Linked DNA regions of Homo sapiens: all the other regions are linked to region 5. Evidence: promoter capture Hi-C in 16 types of primary human blood cells and fetal thymus (Javierre and others, 2016). All regions are on one chromosome and are shown on one strand. Each heading gives the region's core, a stretch centred on a gene start or on the middle of the fragment in contact. The rest is flanking DNA. Distances are from core to core; before and after follow the strand shown.

Region 1 (2,700 bases), core at 80-2,579, 3.5 Mb after region 5:
TACGGTCAAGAAAGGGTTTTCTGGTGGTAGGATTTATTATGTTTAAAGATCAGTGGAAATAATCCAGATGAAAGAGAGTTTGAATATACAAAGGAAGGGATAATTGATAATATAAGGTGAACTGAAGGGGGGGTGGCAAGAAAGGACAGATAGAGAAAATGGCCTTAGATGAGAAGCTTACTTTCCGCTTTGAAACAGTAACCTGAAGCACTTAGGCAATGCTGTAGGATCCTAACTGGTTTCCCTGCTCCTTGCCTTGCAATACAGATATTTTCAACACAGTAGCCATGTCATTTTCTGCTCATAACTTTTCAATGGCTTCCCAATTAACTCAGAATAAAAGCCAATCTTCTTATAATGGCCTATAAGATTCTTCACAGTCTGTTCCTCCACCCACTTCTTTAACCTCACCTCATTTCCTAATATTTTCCCTCTCAGTCACTGCCCTTCAATCACAGAGCTTTCCTTATTATTTCTGAACACATTAGGCAGTCTTTCCTCAGGACCTTTGCTCTTGCTGTCCCCTTTGCCAGAAACATTCCTTTCCAGACACCTGTATAGCTTGCTACCTCATCACCTTCAAATCTTTGCTCAAACGCCATGTGCTCAATAACCACTCTACTTGAAAACATTACTCCTCCATCCAACACTTTACCTACTGTTCTCTGTAGCACTTATTACTTTCTAAATTACTATGTCATTTGATTTTGGTGATGATGAGGCTTAAGTGGAATCAGTATATTCTATTATTTTATAATCTTCAGCAGCATGCAACTGCTCAGAGGTGCTCAGAAAATGAATGGTTGGATTAACTCAGGTTGAAGTTTCGCCAGACACAGGTAAAGGGTTTAGGGTATGCTTCTCAATATTAGCTGAACTTTAGTATCTATTACTTGGAAGAACTTTAAAAAATGGCCAATCTTGAGTCAGTAAGTAATTCTCCCAAGATCTGTTGATTGCATTATTTACATCATCCCTGCCTAGTACCATATGTTGATATGGTGACGTCCTGGTGTTTACTCCCCTTTCCTAGATAGTAATTTTTGTTGCAGTTTCTTATTTTTCGTCATAATTGAATGAAAGCTTCATATCACAAATCTGAGATCCCAAAGCATCTCCTTTTAGTTATGTATTATTCTTAAAATACAAACTCCATAAGAGCAAAACCCAAGTGACTTTGCTTAACACTATGTTCCTAAGACTTGATACGCAGAACTTCAATACTATTTTTTCAAAATGAATAACCACCAGTAGCGAAACATGTATGTGCCAGGTACTGCTAAATTATTTACACAATTTCAATTACTTTTCACAAACAGTACTATACCCTATTAAGTGAAGTTTAGAGACAAAGCAGGATAATCCTCAAGACTAGTAATTTGCCCAAGGTGATGTTGGTAGTCAATAATGTAGCCTGAGCTCTACGCAATGTCATACTGATTCTAAAACCCACGCTTTTAATCACTATACTAGGCTGAGTTTGTGAGGAAGGCAAGGACAGAGAAAAAAGAGATAGAAATGAAGTATGTGAAAATTTTTGGAAATATATCCTTATGATGTTTTAGAAATTGCAACAAAGCTTTTTAAAGTCCCTTTTGGCCAGGCGTGGTGGTTCACGCCTGTAATCCCAGCACTTTGGGAGGCGGAGGTGGCAGGTCACAAGGTCAAGAGATCGAGACCATCCTGGCCAACATGGTGAAACCCCATCTACTAAAAACACAAAGATTAGCTGGGTGTGGTGGCACGCACCCATAGTCCCAGCTACTTGGGAGGCTGAGGCAGGAGAATCGCTTGAACCCGGGAGGTGGAGGCTGCAGGGAGCTGAGATCACACCACTGCACTCCAGCCTGGCTATAGAGTCAGACTCTGTCTCAAAAAAAAAAAAAAAATCCCTTTCACAACTAGAGGCTTGAGGATTTCACTTTTTGGTTCTTCCTTCAGTTCTTCCTTCAATAGAATCACATTAAAATCTTGGTCAACCTATATATAACCTATGAGTTGATAGTTTTTCCCCTCTATTGGTTGGTATGTATTCAGTCTACAGGTTGAAATATGGGTCTTTTACTCATTTGCAAACTTGATATTTCTCATTAGATAGCAGTGTAAATAATCTGCTTTAAGATTTGCTATACATGCAAATTCATGTACATTTTTTAATATCTATTACAATATTTTGCCTGTATTAGGAATAATCTAGCTTTATCCTCCATCTTATTTGTGAGAACAGGACTGGATTTGTAATTCTTTTATTCTTTCACAAAGCAAACAGAAATAGAACCCAAGCTTTTTCCTCTTGAGAATTCAATTTTGCTATTTTTATCGTATACGTTTCTGCAGGCAAATATCCTTTAATTCAACAAATATTTATGGTATGCCACATGAAGCATTCATTCTAGTGGGAAACAACCAATAAACAAAATATATGGCAAATGGTTTAGGAAAAATAGATCAGGGTTAAGGGAGCAACATGGTGGTAGGGCGCCATCATGTAGAGTTCTCAATTAAACAAGACAAGACTTAAGCAGAGACCTGAAGAAGTGAGGGTGTGAGCCAAGCAAGTACTAAGGGGGAAGAGGATTCCAGGCAAAGGGACAGCAGTGCAAAGGTCCTGAGGCAGAGGCATGCTTGGTATACTGGAGAAAACAGGGAGGGAGGGTAGAATGGTGGGAAAAGAATGAGAAAGCAGGGCTGAGCGCGGTG
Region 2 (2,700 bases), core at 139-2,638, 3.5 Mb before region 5:
GATGAGGTAACACAAAAGAGTTGCATTTAAAATTTTTACTTGTTAATTAAGTAAGCTGTATATGTGATAAATAGGATGTGAACTGTTTTACTTCTCTGTAAAGAGGTAGTTTACTTGAATAGTGACAGGTGGATTAATAGGGCTTTGAAAGGGTATTTGATTTTTCCATAGTTCTTCGAATCTTAACATTTTAACACATTTCATTTTTCAACAGCTTGCTATGGCATTGTTCAAGTACCCACTGGACCGTGGTTTTGCAGGAAATGTGAATCTCAGGAGAGAGCAGCCAGAGTGGTAAGGACTATTTATCAAAAACATTAAACTTTAGTGAGTAGGTTAGGAAATTAGGAACTGCACTCCTGTTGTGGTTTGTGGGGTTGTCAGTCATTTCTTCAAATATCATAATGTAAGAGATAATTTAGGCCAAATATTGACTTGGAGTATTAAACAGATTTTGTAAAACTGAAAAACAAATGGAATCAAGTGAGTATATTTTGGATACTTTGAAAACAAAAATACATAGTCATATTTGGGCTTTGTTAACTAGTTACAGAATCAAGAAAGCTTGAAGAAGTTTGAAGGTTACACTGGCTAATCATAGTTAAAATATAATGGAAATAGAAACATAAGGAAGTTACATTGATAATTCTCTTAGGTTTTGTGTAATGGGAAAAAAACCCAATAATTTTAGTGACTATCATATTCCTTTTACTACATCTTTGGGTGTATAGTTTAACTTCGAACACTCACTGATTTCAGGCATTCAGTCCCTTTGGCAAACCAACATAAAAATCTTTTTTTTTTTTTTTTTTTTAACTTGGGTGGTTACCTTATTTCAGAACTTTTCTAAACCTCTTATAAGAATGAAGGAGGTGCCGGGTGCAGTGGTTCACACCTGTAATCCCAGCACTTTGGGAGGCCGAGGCGGGAGTATCTCGAGGTCAAAAGATGGAGACCACCCTGGCCAACATGGTGAAACCCCGTCTCTACTACAAATACAAAAATTAGCTGGGTGTGGCAAGCACCTGTAGTCCCAGCTACTTAGGAGGCTGAAGCAGGAGAATTACTTGAACCCGGGAGGTAGAGGTTGCAGTGAGCTGAGATGGTGCCATTGCACTCCAGCTTGGGCAATAAGAGTGAAACTCTGTCTCAAAAAAAAGAAAAACAAATTACAAACATTAGCTGGGCGTGGTGGCACGCCCTATAATCCCAGCTATTTGGGAGGCTGAGGCAGGAGAATGGCGTGAACCTGGGAGGCGGAGGTTGCAGTGAGCTGAGATCATGCCATTGCACTCCAACCTGGGTGACAGAGCAAGACTCTCAGGAAAGGAAAAAAAAAAACAAAAAGGAGGTAGGCCGGGTGCAGTGACTCACACCTGTAATCCCACCACTTTGGGAAGCCGAGGCAGGAGGATTGCTTGAGTCCAGGAGTTTGAAACCAGCCTGGTCAACTTAGTCTCTACAAAAGAAAAATTTTAAAAATTAGTTGGGGCTGGGCACAGTGGCTCATGCCTATAATTCCAGCACTTTGGTAGGCTGAGGTGGGCGGATCACTTGGGGTCAGGAGTTTGAGACCAGCCTGGCCGACATGGTGAAACCTATCTCTGCTAAAAATACAAAAAATTAACTGGATGTGGCAGCGCGTGCCTATAGTCTAGCTACTCTGGGGGCTAAGACGGGAGAATCGCTTGAATGAGGGAGCCAGAGGTTGCAGTGAGCCAAGATTGTGCCACTGCACTCCAGCCTGCACTCCAAACAGAGTGAGACTGTTTCAAAAAAAAAAAAAAATTAGTTGGGCGTGGTGGCTTGCACCTGTACTCCCAGCTACTCTGGAAGCTGAGACAGGAGGATTGCTTGAACCTGGGAGGTTGAGGCTGCAGTGAACCATGACTCCAGCCTGGGTGACAGAGTGAGAGACTGTCTCACAAAAAACACAGTGAGGGAGGTATGTTTATCCTTTGTATCCACAAGCATTTTTCCCATTTGGATTTCTGAAAATATCAGAAATAGATTTTATTTTCATTAGTTATGCAAACCTACCATTTAAAATATGATAGTTCCTTTTTAAAATCTTATTATATTTATTGATTTATTATTTATTCCAAGACATCTTGTTATAGCAAATTCCTTTCCCTTGGTGTTGATTATGGAATTAGACTGAAGGTAGAGAACAAACATTTTAGCTTCTTTACCTAGGCATATAGCAAAAGCAGAAGCTTTTGTGTTTGCCTGGGCAATTTTTGAGCGGTAGAAATAATGGGCTGGGTGCTGTGGCTCGTGCTTGTAATCCTTGCACTGTGGGAGGCCAAAGTGGGTGGATGACCTGAGGTCAGGAGTTTGAGACCAGCCTGAGCAACATGGCGAAACCCCACCTCTACTAAAAATACAAAAATTAGCTGGGTGTGGTGGTGTGCACCTGTAATGCCAGCCACTTGGGAGACTGAGGCAGGAGAATCGCTTGGACCTGGGAGGCAGAGGTTCCAGTGAGCTGAGGTTGCGCCACTGCACTCCAGCCTGGGCGACAGAGCGAGACTCGTCTCACAAAAAAAGAAAGAAATAATGGTTGAGTAACCTATAAAAATGTGTTGAGTCTCAGAACTATTTGTATTTTATTATTTTGAGACAGTCTTGCTCTGTTCCCCAGGCTGGAGTGGAGTGGCGCAATCATTGCTCACTGCAGCCTTGAAGTCCTGAGCTCAA
Region 3 (2,802 bases), core at 282-2,781, 3.3 Mb after region 5:
TAGAGTTATTAATTGGCCTAATTTCAATATTGTTGTGTCTCAGGGAATAGGGAGGCCTGGGGAGAGGAAGAGAGTTGGGGAATGGCCAGTTGGTGGAGATATCAGAACATATGTAACATTTATCAGTTAAGTTCACCATATTATATAGGTGCAGTTCATGGAGCCCCAAAACAATTAGAATCGTAACATCAAAGATCACTGACCAGAGATCACCATAACAGACAGAATAACAATGAAAAGTTTGCAATATTGTGAGAATTACCAAAATATGACAGAGACACACAAAATGAACATACACTATTGGAAAAATAGCACCAATCGACTTGCAGGGTTGCCAACGAACCTTCAGTTTGTAAAAAACACAGTATCTTCAGAGAGCAAGCCTGACTAACAATTTCCTTCACTTTAAATTCAAAATGAAGGAATACCCTTTCCTTCCGAATGTATCTCATTTAACAAAATTCAAGACTTTTTTTTTTTTTTTTTGAGACGGAGTCTCGCTCTGTGGCCCAGGCTGGAGTGCAGTGGCACGATCTCAGCTTACTGCAAGCTCTGCCTCTTGGGTTCAGGCCAATTCTCCTGCCTCAGCCTCCCGAGTAGCTGGGATTACAGGCGCCCACCACCACGCCCGGCTAATTTTTTCTATTTTTTAGTAGAGACAGGGTTTCACCGTGTTAGCCAGGATGGTCTCAATCTCCTGACCTTGTGATCCGCCCGCCTCGGCCTCCCAAAGTGCTGGGATTACAGGCGTGAGCCACCATGCCTGGCCAAAACTCAAGACTTAAGTCATTCATTACAATTTTGTCTGAATTGCAATTAGGAGAGAAACAGCTGCAGTACCTTTGTATCTTTGTCAGTGAAATGTTTATAACAAGGAAAAACAAAAATCTGTTTGAAATCTCCAGTAAGCGCCCCCCAGTGCACCATCTAGTGGAAGTCAGGTAGTGTCATAATTAATTTAAAGAAAAAAGTCACAGAAACTCTGAAAACCATTGGGGGAGGGGGAGAAGTCAAAGCTTCAGGTAAGAATACAAGCAAATACTTTACAAACAGCCAAAATATCTTTCCAGTGTCCCACAATGCAAGAGGGCTGGGCTTATGAGAATAAATGATTCATTTTCTGTATAATCAACAGATGATAAAAGTTCCTTTATGGAAATTTTTGCTTGGGTGCTAGAAATTTTGACAGGAGAGTAAAAGTTAAATAAAGCCACTAAAACATAAATAAGTAAATAAATGCTGGGCTAGAGTGACAGCCTTGTGTAAGAAGAGTTGCCTTATATGTTACATGAATATGTTAAAATGTACATGTGAAACAGAGGTATTAGCCACAAAACAAGAGATAACTTCATGATTAGAACAGTTACATTCAGGCTGGGTGCAATGGCTCACGCCTGTAATCCCAGCACTTTGGGAGGCCAAGGCAGGCAGATCACTTGAGGTCAGGAGTTCGAGACCAGCCTGGCCAACATAGTGAAACCCCATCTCTACAAAAATATTAAAAAAAAAAAAATAGCTGGGCGTGGTGGCATGCGCCTGTAGTCCCAGCTACTCAAGAGGCTGAGGCAGGAGAATCACTTGAACCAGGGAGGCAGAGATCACAGTGAGCCACAGCACTCCAGCCTGGACAACAGAGTGAGACTCCACCTCAGAAAAAAAAAAAAAAAGAGTTCCATTCAGTAATCCATAAGACATTTTCATGTTCCTGATAACTAGTAAATTTAACAAAACCTAACGATTCTCTAGAATTCCCTAAGCCTTAACATCATACAAGCGGCTACTCCCAACTACCCATTTCAGCCTGTCCCACACTAATGCCCAAACTCCTTTGGTCAAGTTATTCTAATTAAGAAATTATTCTTCAATCCGTCTATAAATTTACAGTAAACACTTCCCGAAACAAAGTCATAAGTCATGATCAAAATGCATTACACTTCATTAGTATTTTCCTTCTGCATATCAATTATTTCTATTCAATTCAAAAAAAGGTACCGAAATTCAATGCTGAGCTAGAGATGCAAACACAAATAAGGTTCTCTAATTTGGAAAGCTTCCCAAAATTTAAAATAGAGATTTTCACACAGCATTCCTAACTTTTGTTTGTTTTGCCTGTGTGGAAAATTACCTTTCACCTGAAATTCAAACTAGCTAAGCAACCTGAATGGAAAGAAAAACCTCGCAGATAATATTTCTTTACTTGAAAATAACCATCTCCACCTCTGACCTGTGTATACGGGATCAAATTGGTATGCAGAAGTTGGCTTGATGGCGGGAATCTTACCCAGATTTTGGATTAAATCCATTATAGGTATAAAATAAAGTAGGAGTAAAGTGGGGCAGGATTCCTTTCATTTCTAGGGCTTTCAGTTGACATACCTGTAAAATGGACATGCTATGCACAGCCTGCCTCAGAAGAGTAGGAGGATGGCATACTATATAATTGATAGAGTGCTATGAGCTTCACGATTAAATGGAAATACTGTTTTTATAGAACCAGAGTGAACCTGAGCATAGAAAACTCTCCAAGGGCCATCGCTGTGACATTACCGCTAAAACTCAGTGACCTTCATCAATTCACTTGTAAACAAGCAATATATTGAGCAAGTCAAAGGAAAGGCAGCAACAATTCAAGATACTTCTTTATAAGTAAATCAAATTACGTAATTAATAGCCCAGGATTTACCTGCAAACTATTACTGCCTGACTAGCAGGTGCATCCCCAAAGCCTCGAGTACAGAGACTGTTTTTAGAGAGCCCCCCCTTTTTTAAATGTGAATATTGCTTTTAAAAATTAGAAAAAGA
Region 4 (2,700 bases), core at 63-2,562, 3.5 Mb before region 5:
TCTAAGGCTAGCATTTCCATCCAAGAAATCAGAGCTACAGCAAATTACATTTTTGTCCCTTGAATGAAAGAAGGATCATTGAATGGATCTCGTGATATTTCAGGCTTTAAACGTAACCGAGAGGCAGCAATGAACAATGCCTCGTCACAGCTAATACCATCCAGCGAGTTGGCTTTCTTTTGCATCTGGATCTATTACACCGTGTTTTTCTCTTTCACTTTCACAGGAGACAAAATGCACAAGGTTTAGGCAGAAAGCGAAGTTTCCAGGAAAAGCAGATGCTGGTGTTTGTTTTTAAAAGTAGAATGACCAGAGTCTTTCTATTGCCAGCAACAATAATGTCGTTTTAAAATTCCTTCTGATGCACTTATATAGTACTGCCAGCCCTCGCCCTCCCACCCCCACCCCCGCCATTCCCCTCCCCCAGCTTTAAGAATTAGACCAAAGAGTCAGCCAAGAAATAGTAAACTCAGAAAAAGCTTTTGAGAAGACAGTACAAAAGGTTGGCTAGAGCATCCTTTTTTTTTTTTCTCCAGGTAGTTTTAGTTGTTCTCCATTCCTGTTTATATTTCCTCTCTCTCTCTCTCTCTCCTAGTCCTCCTACACATAGCAACATGATTTAGTAGCTATTTCAAAACTACCTTCTTTTCCTCTCTCTTCCTCTCTTTCCACCTTTAAAATATTGGCAATATAGGTGGTTTTGAAAACTAGTAGCATATTAAGTTATTTTTTTTTAACTAAGGGCATAATCTGTTGGGTGAAATAGAGAAAAATAAAGGCTAGGGAATTTGAGAAATGTGTCTATATAGACTTTGTGCAAGTATCTCTATATGTACACTCAGACACCTTTACACTTATACATTTTTAATACTACTATTACACATCTTTCTTCGTGTCTAATACATTCTTTTGTTCCTTTAACTTCCCCATCCTTGTGTGTATGTGTGTGTTAGGCTCCAGCACTCTTGCTTGAATGAGTGCATGCACACACACACACACACACACACACACACAAACACAGAATGTGACAGACAGCTTTCTTGGGCCATCAGCACACGTTGCATATCCGGGGTCTTCTCCAGGCACATTGGGGGTCGATCCCGATAAAAAGATCTAGCAGAGGCCCCTGAGCGCTCACACATGAAAGGCAGGGGACTTTAAGATGGATTTGCATGCACACCGGGGATTTCGATCAATAGCTACCAACATTTATGGCTTAGATTATTAATGTGAAAGCTGGCCAAAAGAATGGGGATGAAAAATTAAAGGTGTCTGTTATCAATTATGCTTAAAGTTATGCAATAATTTACTTACTTTGCCTGATGTGCAGATCCAGATGTATAAAGTACTATTCTTCAAAAGCCAGGGGGTTTCTTTGATAAATTTGTTGACCATGTCAGCTGACTCTACAATCAAAGATGAACCCAATTCAGATAATGGACTGTATTCAAATTTTTTTAAGAAAAGATATATCAACTTCTATGTTTCTCAAATGCAAGTACATATGTAGATAGATATGTCCAAATTAACATTTATATATATATATCCTTCTCTGTGGGTCCAGGAAATTATTGTGAATTTAGGCACATGTATGATATGCATTGAGTTTAATTAAATGTGATTATTTACTCAGTGAGGAATGCCTAATCTACACACTATTGTAAAAAGTGCTTTAGCTTTGAAAACAAAGCTGCTTGCAAAAGGAAAATCCTCTTTAGCAAATAGAGATTGAAATATATTCCTAATGTCCACTTACTTCTGCATTTATTGTAAAAAATCAGCACTTTCAGTTTTTAAAGTGAAGGGCCATGAAAATATGAACATATTTGTCTTTACTTATCCCATATGAATGTGCTAGATTTACCTTTAGATGCTCTATTTTGATTTATTTTCACTGTATTTTATGTTTCAATACCATTGCAATTCAGTCTGACCTCTTTCCTCTGGAGCGAAGTAATGCACACGGCATTTACAGTCTTTTAAATGGTTAGCTGGGAAATGCAATAGCAATTTGCAGGAGTAGTTTACTAATGGGGAAAGTTCTTTTGAAAACCTGAAGGAAAACCTAAGAGTACTTTTGCATTTCTACACTACAACTGTCATATAATTAAAGTATTGAAGAGCATTAAAATAATCCTTTTCCTTCCAAGCTTTCACCCATACATACATAATTTAAATGAGGATCACAGCCACCCCCCCCCCCCCCCCCCCCCCCCCGCCACCAGCTCTTCACCATATACGTTTGTTTTAGTGATTGCTGGGCACATTTTGTTCAAAGTGAATTCAGACAGAAAAGAGTAAGGAACATCACAAAGGCCTCAACAATGTAAGTATGCTGGTTAAAAGAATAAAAGCCCCTTGTGCTATTAACTAAAAGTAACTATAATATTCACAAGATAAAAGTTTAAAATAATAATAAAGTCTCATATGGCTGAATTAGTTGAGGATATAAGACAATAAAATCTCAACAGTTCTTTAGCTAAGTTTATCTAATATCACATCTTCTCTGCTTTTTGGGATGGGAAAATGGGAATGAAGGAGTAGAAAATGGCTAAATTGAGAAACAAATGATAACTTAGTATATTTCCTTTAATTTTTTTTCTTTCTGGTTCATTTGAACAAATCAGGGTAAGTCTCCAAAAGGGCCCATCCCTCTGTTCTTAGGCATTTAAAAACCCTGTCTTTAACAGAAGTTTGGGA
Region 5 (2,700 bases), core at 31-2,530:
AAAATAATTGACCATTAGATCTAAAAGGGGCCTTGGATATTATCTGGTACATTTATCTCACAGATCAGTAAACAAATGAAACTTTATTCTAAAGTTCACAAAGACAATTAATTGCTAGGCCCGATTTTTAGTCCAGTCCTTTTCAAATGTGGTTTTGACTTGCATACGGACAAGGATGATGGTAAAAGACAGGAAACATTTCAAGTCCTAGGAGAAATGAGATTTTCTCCACTACTTTCTTTGCTCCCCACAGATTTAAGTAAGTTCTAAGAAGTCCCTACAGATGGGAGTAACTGAAGTGCTTCCTTTGCACGTTTTTGAGATTTGGAGAATTTAAGAGGTTCTAAGACCTATGTAAAATTTCAACTCAATTACATATTTTTTGGTTCATTATCTATCCACCAATTCTTCCTTCCATTTAAACCATTAGATCTGAAAAAGTCCTTAGAAACTGCCTAATAGTGGTAGATATTTCGTTTCACTGATCAAAAACCTGAGGCTCAAAAGCAAATGTAAATTTATATTTCATAAAAATCTTGGGGGAAAAGTCCTATCCTATCCCATTAGAGAGGGAGTAGTGCAGTTAGAAATACAACACCGAACTCCTGAAACCAAACATCAAGTATCCTTAAACAAGATAATAGAATTGTGATTTTTTTCTTTTCAACATGAAACTTCATACTATGCTGTATATCACATATAATTAAATTACACAATAATCACATACCGTATTAATAAGAGGTTAAGTGTAATATAATAAAATGGTCATCTCACAGCGCCAGACTGCCCTCTCTGTAAAACTGTGAGATGCTGAATACCTAGATATTTCGACCTTTTCTCTAACAAGTTATCCTCCAAGGCTACTTCATCGAGGCAAAAATACATTTTATTTATTATTAAAAATTCCAGTATATGTATGCTTAATTAATACTGAGTATTCCCCATTCTTGTTTCAAGTGATAGTCTTTGCTTATCCACATACCTAGGAGGCTGGGGAGGCTCCTTCAAGTCACTGGGTATGAGGTTATAAATGCACTCAGAAGAGCACGTTGGATCCATGGCCACCAAATGACTCCTTAAAAGCTACTCTCCACAACTTTTTTCTCCCTGTCCCAGTATCTCCGTCCCTTTCTTCACTGCTTCCCCTTTCTTTCTTCTTCGCCTTCTGAAGGACCACAGGTTCTCTCCTTCACATCGTCCCCCTTTAACCCCCTCTTAGCAGTCCTCTCTCGGGAAGAAAACACCCTATTTCTCTCCGGATTGCTAAGCGTCGTTGACTGTGCGGTTGCCGTGGAAACCGTTACTAGGCAACGAGGAAGTGGCAGGCAGCACCGCAAACTAGGTCTCCCCTCTTCCCTCTTTCTGCAGCGCCTTCTGCTAGAGAAGCTCATTTGGAAGCCACTGTTTTTACGTGCCTTTGAAAGTTAACGGGGTGAAAATGATGTCCCCTTAAAAACTGTGCTCTTTTCTATTTCTGTGTATCTGGGGAAAAAAGAAAAATCCTAGTAGAGACGGCAAAGCGCAGCTGGTGCGCAGGCGTCACCCAATAAGGTTTTTGTGAGCAGGCCCCAATCGCGGTGTGGGCGGAGCGAGCGGCTGAGACCACGAGGACGCAAGGCCAGCGCCGCCAGGGAGACGAGGGAGGGGAGGAGCCTGAGGAGATCGGAGTGCTCGGATAGGCTACAGTGAGAAAGGAGAGTCACGTGCCCTGCGCGAGGCCGCTCGGGGAAGGGCGTGGAGCGGAGGCACGCTGGCCGCCGCAGGCACAGGCGCAGAGTCCACTGCGCGGGGGCGGGACCGGGGAGCTAGCTGCAGGTACGGTGCTCCGTCTCCTGTGGAGGCTTTAGCGGCTCGTGGACACTGCTCCCCCATTTCCTTTCATTTCCCCCGTCTTCTCAGTGAGATTTCCTTGGTGAGTTATTGGAGGAGAAAGGAAGGAAAACTAGAAGCCAGCCCGCTCCCATCGCATGCCTTTCCCCGTACCGTCCCTTCCCCTTTCCGCTACTCGCTGGTCATCTCAACTCTGCGCGCATTTTTCCTGCTGCTTCTGGTCGAGGCTCCTCGGAACGCCGCGCAGCCCTGCCCGCCACGTGTGTGAGTGCGCGCACGGGGCCCGCGGCCTCCTCCGCCTGCTGCGCTCGCCCTCCCGCCCCTGCTCCCGGGACCGCCCCTTGGGCGGTCCTCCGGGTCGGCTCTGCGCCTGCTCTTCCCCGGGTCGGGACTCTTCCTCTAGGTCGTTCTCCAGGAACCAGTGGACCTGCTCTTTGTAAATGAGCAGCCTAAACTAAGAGGAGAAGCCTTTTAAGTGGGCCTTTACGTTTTTGTCCAGTTTTTGGTGTCCCTTGTTGGAAAATTGTCTTCTGAGAAGCGGTTTTATTCCTTTTTGTTCCACCTGGTCACCCGTAAATCTATGCACATGGGCCTGCCGTAGGAAAGTCATTTAGACGCTTTTACCCGAGTGTTTAAAAGACATTTTGGTAATAGGATTTGGGGAGGAAGATGGATGCCTCTGAACCACCGGTACAGAGGCCACTCTGCCCGAAGGAAATAAAGCTTCCCGGAGAGGAGAGAAAACACACTTGAGTCTGGGTTTCTCACTGCCTGGTTGGCTGGCGGAGTGATTAAAACAACACAATGGCCTGGTGAACCTTTTAGTTCCTGTATAAAAAGGCTTTACTGAATGTGTAGGTCCTTACTTTG

The links. Contacts are between HindIII fragments. The CHiCAGO score rates a contact against its expected background, and 5 or more counts as called.
Region 1: a contact is called between a fragment that was not itself captured here and the fragment with the promoter of ENKUR in region 5, in 1 of 17 cell types (fetal thymus). The highest score is 9.4, in fetal thymus.
Region 2: a fragment that was not itself captured here is called in contact with the fragment with the promoter of ENKUR in region 5 in 2 of 17 cell types (naive CD8 T cells and naive CD4 T cells); the score reaches 6.3 in naive CD8 T cells.
Region 3: a fragment that was not itself captured here is called in contact with the fragment with the promoter of ENKUR in region 5 in 1 of 17 cell types (fetal thymus); the score reaches 6.5 in fetal thymus.
Region 4: a fragment that was not itself captured here is called in contact with the fragment with the promoter of ENKUR in region 5 in 3 of 17 cell types (activated CD4 T cells, naive CD8 T cells and non-activated CD4 T cells); the score reaches 11.9 in activated CD4 T cells.

Annotation. Positions count from the first base shown.
Region 1 is chr10:28,526,588-28,529,287 of GRCh38, forward strand. The region is part of intron 1 of WAC-AS1 (WAC antisense RNA 1); the gene reads right to left. Among named protein-coding and RNA genes, the nearest start is that of WAC-AS1, 4.4 kb to the right of the region's middle. The HindIII fragment of the contact is 496 bases long and covers 1,082-1,577 here.
Region 2 is chr10:21,538,619-21,541,318 of GRCh38, forward strand. It overlaps MLLT10 (MLLT10 histone lysine methyltransferase DOT1L cofactor), which reads left to right. Exons shown (of 23, transcript NM_001195626.3): 3 at 215-294. Among named protein-coding and RNA genes, the nearest start is that of MLLT10, 5.7 kb to the left of the region's middle. The HindIII fragment of the contact is 1,652 bases long and covers 563-2,214 here.
Region 3 is chr10:28,299,298-28,302,099 of GRCh38, forward strand. The region is part of intron 1 of MPP7 (MAGUK p55 scaffold protein 7); the gene reads right to left. Among named protein-coding and RNA genes, the nearest start is that of MPP7, 2.4 kb to the right of the region's middle. The HindIII fragment of the contact is 1,034 bases long and covers 1,015-2,048 here.
Region 4 is chr10:21,520,075-21,522,774 of GRCh38, forward strand. It overlaps SKIDA1 (SKI/DACH domain containing 1), which reads right to left. Exons shown (of 4, transcript NM_207371.4): 3 at 1,315-1,406. Among named protein-coding and RNA genes, the nearest start is that of SKIDA1, 4.3 kb to the right of the region's middle. The HindIII fragment of the contact is 1,671 bases long and covers 478-2,148 here.
Region 5 is chr10:25,014,878-25,017,577 of GRCh38, forward strand. ENKUR (enkurin, TRPC channel interacting protein) reads right to left here and starts at 1,281. Exons shown (of 6, transcript NM_145010.4): 1 at 983-1,281. The coding sequence starts at 1,059. It overlaps THNSL1 (threonine synthase like 1), which reads left to right and starts at 1,735. Exons shown (of 3, transcript NM_024838.5): 1 at 1,735-1,815. RefSeq lists silencers at 1,287-1,336, 1,667-1,866, 2,047-2,126 and enhancers at 1,410-2,172, 1,483-1,777, 2,377-2,456. The HindIII fragment of the contact is 2,880 bases long and covers 1-2,551 here.